2 separate regions of the Homo sapiens genome follow, and region 1 is linked to region 2. Evidence: promoter capture Hi-C in 16 types of primary human blood cells and fetal thymus (Javierre and others, 2016). All regions are on one chromosome and are shown on one strand. Each heading gives the region's core, a stretch centred on a gene start or on the middle of the fragment in contact. The rest is flanking DNA. Distances are from core to core; before and after follow the strand shown.

Region 1 (6,858 bases), core at 1,956-4,455, 300 kb after region 2:
TCCTGACCTCAGGTGATCCGCCTGCCTCGACCTCCCAAAGTGCTGGGATTACATGCGTGAGCCACCACGCCTGGCCGACTTTTTTTCTCTGTCACCCGGGCTGGAATGCAGTGGTGCATCTCAGCTCACTGCAACCTTCACCTCTCAGGTTCAAGTAATTCTCCTGCCTCAGCCTCCCAAGTAGCTGGGATTACAAGTGCCTGCCACTTTGCCTAATTTTTTTTTTTTTTTTTTTTTTTTGGTGTATTTAGTAGAGATGGGGTTTCACCATGTTGGCCAGACTGGTCTTGAACTCCTGACCTCGAGATCTGCCCACCTTGGCCTCCCAAAGTGCTGGGATTACAGGCATAAGCCACCATGCCTGGCCAACTTTTACATCTTTATTAACTAATGCACTTAGAATACAGCCGGGCAGCAGTGGGTGAACAAAAATACTTGCAGAATGAGTGGGTATCATTTGCCTTTTTTCCATTATGCATCCTCAAACTCCAAAGCTTGGCTGCACATCTGAACCAACTGCACATATCACCACAAACAACATATAGCAAAGGTGGCAGGGGGTGGAGAGGACTGGAAAAAAAACTGGCTTACATATTTGACAGAGAAAATTCTCAACATTTGTGGCATGCTGGGGCTACAGAGTGGGAGGTCTTTGTCTCTGTTCATACTTATGACACGAACTCAATCGTGTCCCACTCCCAGCCCCCAGTAGCAAACCCTGGCAGTATCACAAGCTCCATGACCAGCTGTACCCTTGAATTTAACACAAACACCAGGAAAGGTTAAGGAATTTTCTTTATTTTTTACAAATTAAGACTATGCAGATTTCATATATTTCTGAATCAAAAACACCTTTGTCTTCACAGTATGAGTTAGAATGCAGCCTGAGCTGAAAATCAAGAAACTAGAAAAGAAAGTGGTAGAGATAACTATATTAAAAATCTGTTAGGTATTTTCTTTAAAAGTAGGTGTTTTTTTTTTTTTCTTTCTTTTTTTTTTTTAATATCTTGTCATTCTTGGCACTGTTTCTAAAGAAAAACTCCATTATCCCAAGCAAAAAGCACAGAAGGTGGAGTTTGGCTTCAAGAGATGTTAACTCAAAATCTTAGGCCTAGCAGAGAATCACCAAATTTATGGAGAGTTAACAGGGGTTTAACAGGAAGGAAGTGCCTTTAGTAAGTTCTCAAGCCAGAGGCTGGAGGCAGCAGCTAAATCAGAGGACAGCATCCTCAGTGAAAGTGAGCCATTCGGGGTGGCATGTCACTCCAGGAATAAACACAACTTAGAAACAAATGATTTCGTAGGATAGCACAGTGACATGGTGCACTGTGAACCTGAGGCCACTGTGTCAAACTGTGCACTGGTTGTGAATAGGGAGAGCCAAAAATTATGTCCTACTGGTAATGAGCTTTCAATGGCTCGATCCTCTCACACTGAAGCTCTGTAGAGCAGCTCAGAGCCACAACCACTCCCAACATTGACCCTTCTGGGGGTAGCTGTCTGTGGCAGCCCACAGGAAGGAGCTGGAGATCCCCATTAGGACTGTCCACCCACACTTGAAGCCACAAAACTGCAGGGATTGGGGCTCTCACTGGTTTGGTCGCCTAACTCCCGCCTAAAAGGCCACAAATTTCTGGAAAACAGGTAACAGACCAAAAACTAAAGTGCATCAGTAAAATGAACATTTATCTACTGCCCCGAATCTCTGGCTTGACACTACCTACTGGTGTCCAGTTGGAGACAGACTAAAATGCACTGAAGGACTATTAGGATTGCTGCCTCCTAAGTTATCACAGCCTCGCTCTGTTGATGTGAATGAGGAACTGCTTGGTTGTTAAAGGAGATTTTGCTCCCTGCTGCCCCAAACAGGTCCTTATCTAGGTTTGCTCCCCACTGCCCCAAACAGGTCTGGCAGGATTGGTTACAATGATCTCCAGAGGCTCAACCATTCCCCTTCCCTATCCTTGCTTGGGACATTTAATCACAGCCACCTAGTAGAGGCCGCTCAGTAAGGGGATAACAAACTAAAAAAACAAAAACAGGGCAAGTTTAGGGGAACCCTACGATGCTGTACCTTGATACACATAATCAGCCTTTTCAAAAATGCCTGACAAGAATTAGTCTTTCCTTTGTGCTGAAGTCTTCCCACCCATGGATGGAAGCAGGCTGACTCCCTGAGGGTCAGGCAAGGGGTGGGAAAGGGAACACATTACTTTTGTGAAGGCAAAGCAGAAAGGTGTGTTTGCCAGACCAGCATGGGCAGCTCAGAGGGAGCAAAGCATCCACCAGAAGAGGCTCTCCATTTTCTTTGTAGGGCCTGACAGTTGAGATTTGAGGCTGAGTTAACAATGGGACCACTGAACTTCTTTCCAATGGAAAACTCACGGCCCAGTCCCACAGGAACTGTGCGCATACCAAACAACAATGAGGAAGGAAGGGCCGGGTGGCTCTACCAAACAGTTCAGGTCCACTGGGTGAATGAAGCCTGGTGGGAAAGCGGACTCCTGAAGTTGGCGCCCTCTGCTGGTCCCACTTCTCATCGTGGCGGGTCGACTGCCTGAGTAGAGGAAGAGGCTACAGATGGGGTTGACAAAAAAGGGAGTGAGGGGAACCCCAGGAAGATGAAGCCAAACTCCAAACTATATTCTGCTAATCAGTTTTTTGATCAAAAAATTCAAAATAGAGGAAACCACAAAGTACAAAAGCTTTTCTGATGCTTTTCATTATCACAGAACACACCACCTGTAATGTGTGCAAAAAGGAAATGAGGGGTGGAAGGAGAGGAAGTCTAATTGGGAAAGGCTGGATGGTCACTTCATTTCTTCTCTTTCTTCTTATCCTAGAAATGGAGAAAAATCACCCAATTAATTTTTTGACATTTGACATTCAAGCTAAAACTCTTGAGTGAGCATTTAGTTAGGGACTAGAAGTGAGCCAGACAATTAAAAAGAAATGAGAAATGCTTCCTTAGCTCAGCAAGAACTGAATCTTAACCACATCCTACTGGTGGTTCCCAAAGTTGCCGACAGACCGACCAAGAATAAAGGTTAAGCAGCTGTCCCCACCCCCACCCCAGGAGTGCCGAGGTGGGCTGCCTGACCACTCTAGGCTATTCACAGCCACTACAGCTCAGATCCCAACAGTGAAGGCTGCAGATGGCACTCTATCCTCAAAGAGTGAAACTAGAGGCCAAGACCACCAACCAACCATTAGGCGCGAGAAGTGCTCCACCCTGCAAAGTGAGCATGACTCTGGCATAAACTGACATTCAGAAATAATTTGGTCCAGCAGAATTCTTCATTCAATCTTGGATGGAAGCCCAATGTATTAAGGAATGAAAATTCAGTTGCTTGTTCTGAAACTTGTACATCTGCCTAGTGCTCAGTCCAACCATGGCATAGCCCAGACAGAGCCAGCAATCCTATCTGGTCAACTACTCCCGCTACCACTATGCTATCTCTAAGCTCCATAAGGTCTATAAAGAAAAGCTCATTTCATTTGTTTCCCCCACTGCTTGACTCAACTACGTTAGATACTCATTAGCCCTATATAGAATGCTTCCTTGGAAAAAAAAATTAACAAATGGATAAAATTAGTCTACTTCTGAAATTTACAACGTCCTCCACAATACCTTTCTCTGAGTCACAACTATATAGCCTTTAAATTATTCATGTAGCAGGTTGTGTTTACTGCCACTGAAGCTTTTTTCCCTTTCATACTAAACGCAGGAATTAGTTAAAAAAATTTTTTTTTCACTTGCTGCTTTTTTTCTAACAACTGAAGACTTCTGGCTTACCTCTTACTCAGTGGCCTGCCTTACAGTTACCCTGGACCTAACACAGTGTGTGAGCAAGTTTTCAAATCTGAAGTATACACACATGCCAAGCTCAGGAGCCATTATTGTCTCATCTTTGGGTTGTAGGCTAACTAACCTTTTCATTCATGGCCAGGATCATCATGAGTTTTCTGAAGACAGTAATGAAATCTAAGAAGAGATCAATGCAGTGCCTGAAAGGCAAGAACCAGATTAGGATCTGTACTTCAGACTTTTTTATCCACAAGCCCACAAAGATGCAGAATATAAACCCCACCCCTACCCCCACGAGCCAGCTTCTCCCACACTTTACCCCCAACTAAGGAAGTAAAACTCTGGTGTCTGAGATCCTTTAGACTCATCGAAGTCATGCAGCATAGAGAAAAGAGACTGGGCCAGGCACAGTGGCTCATGCCTGTAATCCCAACATTTTGGGAGGCTGAGGCAGGTGGACTGCTTGAGCCCAGGAGTTCGAGACCAACCTGGGTAACATAGCAAAATCCCGTCTCTACAAAAATTAGCAGGGCATTGTGGCATGTGCCTGTAATCCCAGCTACTGAGGAGGCTGAGATGGGAGGAACACCTGAGCCCAGGGAGCTTGAGTCTACAGTAAGCCATGACAGTGCCACTCTCCTACTGCAGCTTGGGTGACAGAGCAAGCCCTGTCTCAAGCGCTCTGAACTCTGCAGAGGTCCAAGTCTGAACCCTTAACTACCACTAATTAGTCATGAGACTGAGAGAATCACTACATTAAAAAAAAAGTGCCGAGCACAGTGGCTCACACCTGTAATCCCAGCACTTTGGAAGGCTGAGGCGGGCATCACCTGAGTCAGGAGTTTGAGACCAGCCTGACCAACATGGAGAAACCCCATCTCTACTAAAAATACAAAATTAGCCGGGCATGGTGGTGCATGCCTGTAATCCCAGCTACTCAGGATGTTAAGGCAGGAGAAACACCTGAAGCCGGGAGACGGAGGCTGCGGTGAGCCAAGATCACACCGTTGCACTCCAGCCTGGGCAACAAGAGCGAAACTCCGTCTCAAAAAAAAAAAAGTGAGCTGGGCATGGTGGCCCATGTCTGTAATCCCACCACTTTGGGAGGCTGAGGAAGGCAGATTGCTTGAGGCCAAGAGTTCGACACCATGTCCTCACGGGGCAACGTGGCAAAACCTCGTTCTACTAAAATTACAGAAATTAGCTGGACGTGGTGGAGAGTGCCTGTAATCCCAGCTACTAGGGAGGCTGAGGCACAAGAATCGCTTGAACCCAGGAGGCGGAGGTTGCAGTGAGCTGAGATGTTGCCACCGCACTCCAGCCTGGGTGACAAAGCAAAACTGTCTCAAAAAAAAAAAAAAAAAAAAAAAGTGGCTGGGCATGGTGGCTTAAGCCTGTAATCCCAACACTTTGGGAAACCAAGGCAAGAGGACTGCTTGAGACCAATCTGGGCATATGGTAAGACCCCATCTCTACAAAAAATAAATTAGCCTGGCATGGTCGCACGTGCCTGTTGTCCCAGCTACTCAAGAGGCTGAGGCAGGAGTACTGCTTGAGCACAGTAAATTCAGGCTGCAGCGAGCTGTGTTCATGGCACCACACTACTGCCTAGGCAACAGAGCGAGACCCTGTCTCTAAAAAAAGAGTGTATCTTCTACTCATTGTTTAAAAAATACAGAAGTATAAATAGGAAAAGGAGAAAGATCTCTTTCCCTCACTTCTGCTTGGAGGTAGCCACTATGGATATGTAAATATATAGCCACCCCCCAACACTTTTTTTTTTTTTTTTTTTGAGAAGGAGTCTCGCTCTGTCGTCCAGGCTGGAGTGCAGTGGTGCAATCTCCGCTCACTGCAAGCTCCGCCTCCCCGGTTCACACCATTCTCCTGCCTCCGCCTCCTGAGTAGCTGGGACTACAGGTGCCCGCCACCACGCCCGACTAATTTTTTGTATTTTTAGTAGAGACAGGGTTTCACCGTGTTAGCCAGGATGGTTTCGATCTCCTGACCTCGTGATCCGCCTGCCCCGACCTCCCAAAGTGCTGGGATTACAGGCGTGAGCCACCGTGCCCGGCCCCCACACTTTTTTTTTTTTTTTTTTGAGACAGGGTCTCGCTCTGTTGCCAGGCTGGAGTGCAGTGGTGCAATCTTGGCTCACTTCAACCTCCACCTCCTAGGTTCAAATGATTCTTATACCTTAGCCTCCTGAGTAGCTGGGATTATATACATGTGCCACCATGCCCAGCTAATTTTTTTATATTTTTAGTAGAGATGGGATTTCGCCATGTTGCCCAGGCTGGTCTCAAACTTCTGAGCTCAAGCGATCCAGTGGCCTCAGCCTCCCAAAGTGCTAGGATTATAGGTGTGAGCCACCACACCTGGCCTATTAGCCCAGATTTTTAAAAAATCTGAAATCTTTCAGGAATTGAGGAAGATTATGGTACACAGTTCCAAAACCGTGGGTTTCCTACCACATACACTCCCAAAGCTTGGCCACCTATGTTCAGCCAATGCCAACCTAAGTTCAGCTGCTGAACGGTATGCCTCAACCTTCATGCTTGTTAAAGACTAGTTCCCACACTCACCAGATATAATCTTGATCTCCATGTTCGGCCTTTTCAATAATGAGTTGAGTATCAAAAAGGACGAAGCCACACATGACCACCAGTCCCACATACAGGTTTGCCTAACAAATGTAAGAGATGAAGTTACTATACAGCAGAAGTTGCAGAGAAAAAAAAACCAGCCATACTTTCTGGCTCATAGTCACTTGAAAGTACATCAAATGTGAACCCTATGAACATTACCATTCACGAGAACTGCAGCCTAGGGTGAAGACCACTTTACTTCCCTAGGCACAATACTGCACTGGTCACTGGAAGAGTTTCAATCATTTTAACAATCAGCCACTGCCAGACTGGCCTTACACAAATGGTGTCTGAGCAAACCATTTTCTCTTAGCAATGCCCAACCTTGTGCAGCCTGTTTTCACTTGTGGCAGAAGGCTCCATCCTATGAAGGATAATGGGAAGGCTTAGAGAGCACTGCCCAAA
Region 2 (6,936 bases), core at 445-2,944:
GCAGCACCCTAACTCCTCTGCTGTGAGTGGCAGGTTTGGGGGTGGGGGTGGGTTAAAGGGCAGGGTTGGCTGGGCTCTATGGTGGGTCAGGGAGGCAGACATCCTGACTGGAACTCAAGCAACTCCAGGAGCAGGGCTGAGGGAGGGTGGGAGCCACCCACCTGTTGTTGAGCAGGGCCAGCAGCTCCCCAGCATGATACAGGTCATTCTTGGAGACTTGGCTAAAGCGGAACTCGTTGAGGTTGCACAGCGTGACAGCAGGGAAGGTAAGCTGAGAGGCAGCCACCTCGTCGAGCTTGGTGACATGGTGGTAGTGGAAGTAGTACTGCACACGCTCCGTGCACACACACAGCAGCACAGCCAGGGAGCCCAGGAAGCACAGGGCCCACAGTGCCCGCTTCAGAGACAGCCGCTCGTAGGAGAAGATGTGGGCCAGGCCGTGCAGTGTGGAGCTGCTGGCGAAGGCCTGGATGCTCACCGGCTGGACGCCACCCACCTCCTCCTCCTCGGCCTTCAGTTCCATCCTTGTTGAGGGGATCCTGGGGGAGGAGGGAGGGACAGTCTATCATTGTCCTGGGATGAAAGTACACATGGAGCCCCTCCACATGTGCCCATCCAGAATCCTCATCTCCAGAGGTCACCACTCCTCGGGCAGAAGACTTCCCTGCTTTGCAAGCCCAGAGGTGGCTGACCAAGGGACACATCCAGGGTTCCTCCAAATACAGAGGCACAGGGGGTCAGGTCAGGCCAAGAGAATGCTCCCCAGAGAAGCTTCCCAGGCCCGGGGAGACCCCAGATATAGTCATCCGAGGTTGAGGGGGAAGTCCTGATGCACCCATAGGCAGGCGCAGGAGTTCCCTCCAGATGTGGGGTCACTCTGGGACAAGAATATCCACCCCATCCTGGAGATGAAAACTCACCCAGATGGGCTGACCCCGGGGTAAGGAGCTCCTGTCCTGGTCACGGGTATTCCCTGGACGGGGCTGTGGTCCTAAGGGCTAAACTGGGGCCAGAAAACCCCCAGGGAGGTGGCTACATCTAGGGAGGGGCCCAGCCTGAGTCCTCACCTGCGGGTGTCTCCAGTTCTCACATAAGCGCAGGCTGTGTGTATGTTGGGAGTGGGGGGTGGCGGGCTGCCCGAGGTGGATGTATGGAGGGGGGGCGCGGTTCCCTATGACAGCGAGCTGTCCCCGCCCCGGACGCAGCCCCCCCCAGTCCAGCTTCTCGTCGCAGTCAGATCCCCAGCTCGGCCCCCGCCCCCCTCCCCAGCCACCGAGCCGCCCCAGCAGCAAGGGAAATCCAGAGGGAGGAGAGTCCCGGCTTCGGGGTACCGAGGAGCCTCGCGGCCAAAGGCAGGGGTATCGGAAACCCACCTGAGGGGGCTTCGGCAAGCCGGCAGCCGGCGGCGGGTCCTGGGGCGCTGGACCGGTGGCGGGCTCAGCGCCGAGTCGCGGAGGGGCTCATGGCCCGGGGCCGGAGCCCGCGGCCGCCGCGGCACGCCGCGCAGAGCCCTGCAGGGAGCGCCCCGCCCGGCCCCGCTCGGCTCCGATCTGTCCGCCCGCCCGCGCGCGCTGGCTCGCTGGCTCGCTCGCCTCGGCTCGGTCTGCCCGGGCTCGGCGCGGTGCGCGGTGCTCTCAGCCCTGGGATCTGCAGGGATCCATCGTCCGGCCGGGAGGCGGCGGGAGGGGAGGGGGAGGGGAGAGGGTGCGCGTGCGCGCCTACGAGTGTCTGCGAGGCTGTCTCTGGGCTGGTGTGCGCGCGGGGCCCCGGATCCGGGAGCGGGACCCAGGGCTCCCCGCGCCGCCTCGCCCCTCCTCGCGGCCGCTTTCGGCGGCGCTGCCTCTCTCCAGTCCCGGAGCCGTCTCCCTGCCTGCGAGGCCCTATGGCTTGTGTGTATGACTCTGTGTGTGGTGTGTGTGCGCGCGCGCGTGTGTGCGCGCAGGAGGGAGGGTGTCTGCCCCTAGCGTCCCTCTCCCCGCGCTGTCTCCTTCGGATCGATGCTCCTGCCTCTTGCTGCTGCTTCCTCTGGTGGCACACACGCGCGTACACACACACATACACACACACGCTCCGAGTCACACTTGACTAATTCAAGCACTTAGCCCATATGGAGACAGACACACATACCGACCAGAGTCACACCACACCATTCACAACCACACCCCCCCGCAACAGATGTCCACGTATCCCGGGGGCCTGACCCACATGGCAAGCACTCACCTGCTCTTATCCCTGCTCCCACCTGCATGTGACACATATACACGTGCACATATGTGAGCCAACACGCAGCCTTGACCACTCAGATCCCATCCTTGTAGCTTTGGGCTTGTGGGGGGCATGGTCGCAACCCCTTACTGCCAAATCTCCAAAGAAGGAGCAGAGAAAAGGAAGGAAAAATAGCCAGAGGTCAAGGGAATTTGGACAGAAGGAAGGAGGCAAAGGGAGTGAAGGGGACAGGGTGAGGAAGGGTTGGAACGGGGAGCTATGCTCAGGGATGGAGCAGAAGTCTCAGCACAGAACGCAGGCCTGGGGGCTGCTCCTGTGGCTCTCACCTTTCTCCTTCCCTGCCTCCCTCCTCTTCTCTGAGAGGCCTTGGGGAGGGGGGCCCTCCCTATCCAATTAACAGAGAAGGAGCAATCAAGGGGAAGTTGTTAATTTGCTGATGCTCATTAGGGGCTCTTAGCACAGAGGCTGTTGAGGTCTGATGGTGTCAGATGATGAGGAGGAGGGTGCGGGGGACCAGAGTTCTGTCTCTAGTGGCTCCTTCGCTCTACTTGCAGGCTGGTGCGGCTCGGGGAGAAGGATGGTGAGAGGTGTATTCCTAGGACATGGTGCCGGGCTTTAAGTTAGAAGAAAACCTGTAACGAGAAGGGGATGGCACATTGGAAAGAAGTTGGATGAGAAGTTGGGAGTAGTGGACATCTAGGAAACCAGAGAAGGGGTCTGGAGGTCCCTAGTGGGAGAGTGGACTTAAGATTGTGGAGGAGGGAGGTCGAGATCCATTTACTAGGGGACTGGACACGGAGCTGCCAAAAGGAAGGGAGGATCTTCCATTCAGGTCTTGGGGAGCTGTTCAGCGGTACCAGGCAGTGCTGGAGGGTTGCTATGCCCCCGGGCAGCCACTGGGTGGCAGCCCTCTCCCAGATACTTAGAATCAACTCGTGGGGGGCATTTGAGAGTGGGAAATCACCTGGGAGGGTCCCAGAGACCTGAGGAAGCATCAGGCAGAGTCTGATTCCTGAATTCCAAATATCCTCAGGGGGAGGGGAACACTATTTTGGAGCATCTGTAATTTCCCCACCTCCCCGCGGCTCGCAGGCTGACTGACACGTGGAGCCTCTTCAAATGGCTGCAATTGCTTCAGTCACCTGGGATGTTACTGAGGGAGCAGCGGGGGTGGAGGGAAGGTGATGAGGTGAGGTGGAGGCAGGCGAGGACTGATTGAGGCCAAGGAGCAGCCTCAGGAGGAGTCTGGGGGAAGACAGAAGGTATGAATCAGGAGAATCAGCTTCCAGACCTGGCCCTGCCATTCATTAGCATAGGCAGGCCCCTTGACCTCTCTGGACCTCGGTTTCCTCATCTGTAAGGCAGAGATAATATTTATTTCACAGGATTTTTCGAGGATTACATGAGCTAACGCATGGAAAGTGCTTAGTACATTGGCATGTACCTAGTAAATCCCAATAAGTAAATAACTATTATTAGTATTAGCATTTGGATCTAGTGGTAAAACCACCAGTGCAGCCAAACCAGGGCAGAATCTAAGGCACTGGTTCTTAACCCAGGCTGCACATTCGAATCACCTGGGGAGCTTTTAAAACTGCAATGCCAGCTGGGCGCGGTGGCTCACTCCTGTAATCCCAGCACTTTGGGAGGCAGAGGAGGGTGGATCGCCTGAGGTCAGGAGTTTGAGACCAACCTGGCCAACATGGTGAAACCCATCTCTACTAAAAATACAAAAAGTAGCTGGGCGTGGTGGCGGGCACCTGTAATCCCAGCTACTCGAGAGGCTGAGGCAGGAGAATCATTTGAACCTGGGAGGCGGAGGTTGCAGTGAGCCGAGATTGTGCTATTGCACTCTAGCCGGGGAGACAAGAGCGAAACTCCATTTCAAAAAATAAAAATAATAAGATAAAACTGCAATGCCAGCCAGGCGTGGTGGCTCACGCCTGCAATCCCAGCACTTTGGGAGGCCGAGGTGAGTGGATCACCTGAGGTCAGGAGACCAACCTGGCCAACATGGTGAAACCCTGCCTCCACAGAAAATACAAAAATTAGCCAGGCGTGGTGGCACGCACCTGTAATCCCAGCTACTCAGGAGGCTGAGGCAGAAGTGCTTGAACCCGGGAGACAGAGGTTGCAGTGATCGGAGATCGTGCCACTGCACTCTAGCCTGGGCAACAGAGCGAGACTCTGTCTCAGAAAAAAAAAAAAAAAACTGCAATGCCATGGCTCCACTTTAGACCAGTTAAATCAGAATCTCTGGGGCTGTGGCGCGATCTTGGCTCACTGCAAGCTCAGTCTCCTGGGTTCACGCCATTCTCCTGCCTCAGCCTCCCAAGTAGCTGGGACTACAGGCACCCGCCACTACACCTGGCAAAGTTTTTTGTATTTTTAGTAGAGACGGGGTTTCACCGTGTTAGCCAGGATGGTCTCAATCTCCTGACCTTGTGATCCACCCGTCTCAGCCTCCCAAAGTGCTGGGATTATAGGCGTGAGCCACCATACCCGGCCTTTTTTTTTTTTTTTTTTTTTAAGTTGGGGTCTCACCCTGTCGCCCAGGCTGGAGTGCAATGGCACAATCTCGGCTCACTGCAACCTCCGCCTCCCCGGTTCAAGAGGTTCTTCTGCCTCAGCCTCCCGAGTAGCTGGGATTACAGGCGCACACCACGACGCCCGGCTAATTTTTTGTATCTTTTGTAGAGCTGGGGGTTTCACCATGTAGGCTTGAACTCCCGACCTCAGGTGATCCACCCACCTTGGCCTCCCAAAGTGCTGGGATTACAGGCATGAGCCACTGCGCCCGGACAATCGCCCAACTTTTTGAGGCCTTTAACATATAGCCAATCTTGAGCAACCTTGCTCTTCAGAACTTATGGGTCTGAATTATGGTTTCATAGTGTCACAGGCCCCAGTCTTAGGAAGTTCTTTCTTATATACAACCTAAATCCCTCATGCTGTTGTTTCTTCTTCGTTTGAGAAGTGATGGGTCCTTGCACACACACATCCCCTCATCCCTACCCTGTACATCGCAGCAAACCTTCACCGAGGGTTTTCCTGGATCAAGCCCCAAGATTGGCCCTGTGGACATGGTGAGGATTGGCAGAGTCCTTGCCTCAAAATATCCCAGTGTGGAAAGAGAGACAAACATGTTGACTTGTGACTCTAGTGCAAGGGCCAGGAGTGAAATAGAAGGCTGAGCCAGGGCTGCCAGCAGAGAGAGGCAGGGGGGCAGTCACTCTGACAGGGGTTTGTGGGACAAGGATGAGGAAAAGAGGAAGTTGGTGTTGGCAGGGCCTTAGTAAGATAACACTTGAGGGATCCAAGGGCTGTGATTAGTGTCTCATTACTTCTTTCTGCTTCTCTGGCCCACCCACCCCTTGTCCAAGTCCTGACAGAGGATACTGGCTCCTTCAGCATCCTCCCAGCTTCTTCTCCATGCTTCGTTTTCTCTGGACCCTGCAGTCCTTAGACCTCAGTACCCTTTATCCCCACCACGGACTGAGAGGGAAACAGGCCTGAAGATATTTCTCCTTCTGCTGGCAGGAGGCATCTAGCCAGGGCCCACTTAGGACTTTGGCCTTGTGCTCACCTAGGTTCAAATCTCAGCTCTGTCACACCAGTGCTGTGTGGCCCTGGGCAAGTAACCTAGCCTGAGTCTCACTTTTCTCCAGAAACCATAAAACCCAGCTAATGCCCATGCTGTTGAAACAATGTGTGTCTAGCAAACAGTAGGGGGTGTTCCATCAATAGTGGCAAGCATTATGATCATCCCTGAAAGGCTGATGGGGGCAAATTCCCCATGGATGCTTCCCTTGCAGATGGCCCCATCTGCTTTAGGTGCAGAAGCGCCCTCCAGCCTCTCAGAGATGGGTGAAGAGGGAGGGTAAAGAGGGGGACAAGACCCCCTGGGATTTCCAGGCAGCTCTTCTCCGCTCCCCCGTGCATGAAATCACACGCGCCCCAATCTGTCTGCATCCACTTCATCTGCCGGCTCAGCAAATGCAGAGACAATTAAGGAGTTAATTAGCACGCACTGGGAAGGGGCTGGGGACCTAAGGCTGATGGGACCCAGCAACACAGCCTCCCCACCCTCCATACTCAACGTTGTCCCCCCACCACCTGCCAACCCATAACCCTCATCTTTTCCACTGCTTTCTCTTTTTACTAGTCCAAACACTCCTCTTACCCCACTCCCACACTTACCTGCTATCCTCACCCTTTCTCCCCCACCTTATGCTATCCTGTCTCTTTTCTCTCATTCCTCTCTCTAATCTCTTCTCTCCTCCTCCACTCAGCTTTTCTCCCTTTTCCCACTCAAGTCTCTGTCTTCTCCATCCTTCTAGGACTCACCCTTTCCTCCTCCCCACTTCCTCCTTCTAATCTAGCCCCCTCTTCACTCCCCATCTCTTCTCCCTCTCCTATTCATCACCTTTCCCTCTCCAACTTGAATATGGGTCTCAACAAATGTGCCTGTCCACTGGTTCATGAACATGGGGCTCTGTATCTGCTACAGGAGTCCATGGGTTCCAGGTTGCCTGTCAGGCAGGTGTCTGCCTCTGCAATCCTGAAGGAGTGATCTCTGGTCCTCACCGTTCCCCAGCACCTCTCATTCCTGGCTCTCTCGGTGTCTCAGGCTCTCTTTCTTGTGCCAGTGCATCTCTGGGGGGCTCTCTCCCCATACTGCTGCCTCTGTCTGGGTCTCAGCAGTTTGTC

The links. The method cuts DNA at HindIII sites, captures the fragments that hold promoters and counts their contacts. A CHiCAGO score of 5 or more calls a contact.
Region 1: a fragment that was not itself captured here is called in contact with the fragment with the promoter of ASIC1 in region 2 in 1 of 17 cell types (M0 macrophages); the score reaches 5.5 in M0 macrophages.

What each region holds. Positions count from the first base shown.
Region 1 is chr12:49,758,854-49,765,711 of GRCh38, reverse strand. TMBIM6 (transmembrane BAX inhibitor motif containing 6) reads right to left here. Exons shown (of 10, transcript NM_003217.3): 8 at 6,391-6,491; 9 at 3,933-4,008; 10 at 778-2,839. The coding sequence ends at 2,816. Among named protein-coding and RNA genes, the nearest start is that of TMBIM6, 21 kb to the right of the region's middle. The HindIII fragment of the contact is 996 bases long and covers 2,708-3,703 here.
Region 2 is chr12:50,052,354-50,059,289 of GRCh38, reverse strand. It overlaps ASIC1 (acid sensing ion channel subunit 1), which reads right to left and starts at 1,694. Exons shown (of 12, transcript NM_001095.4): 1 at 1,374-1,694; 2 at 162-539. The coding sequence starts at 523. RefSeq lists silencers at 1,492-1,661, 1,732-1,891. The HindIII fragment of the contact is 9,166 bases long and covers 774-6,936 here.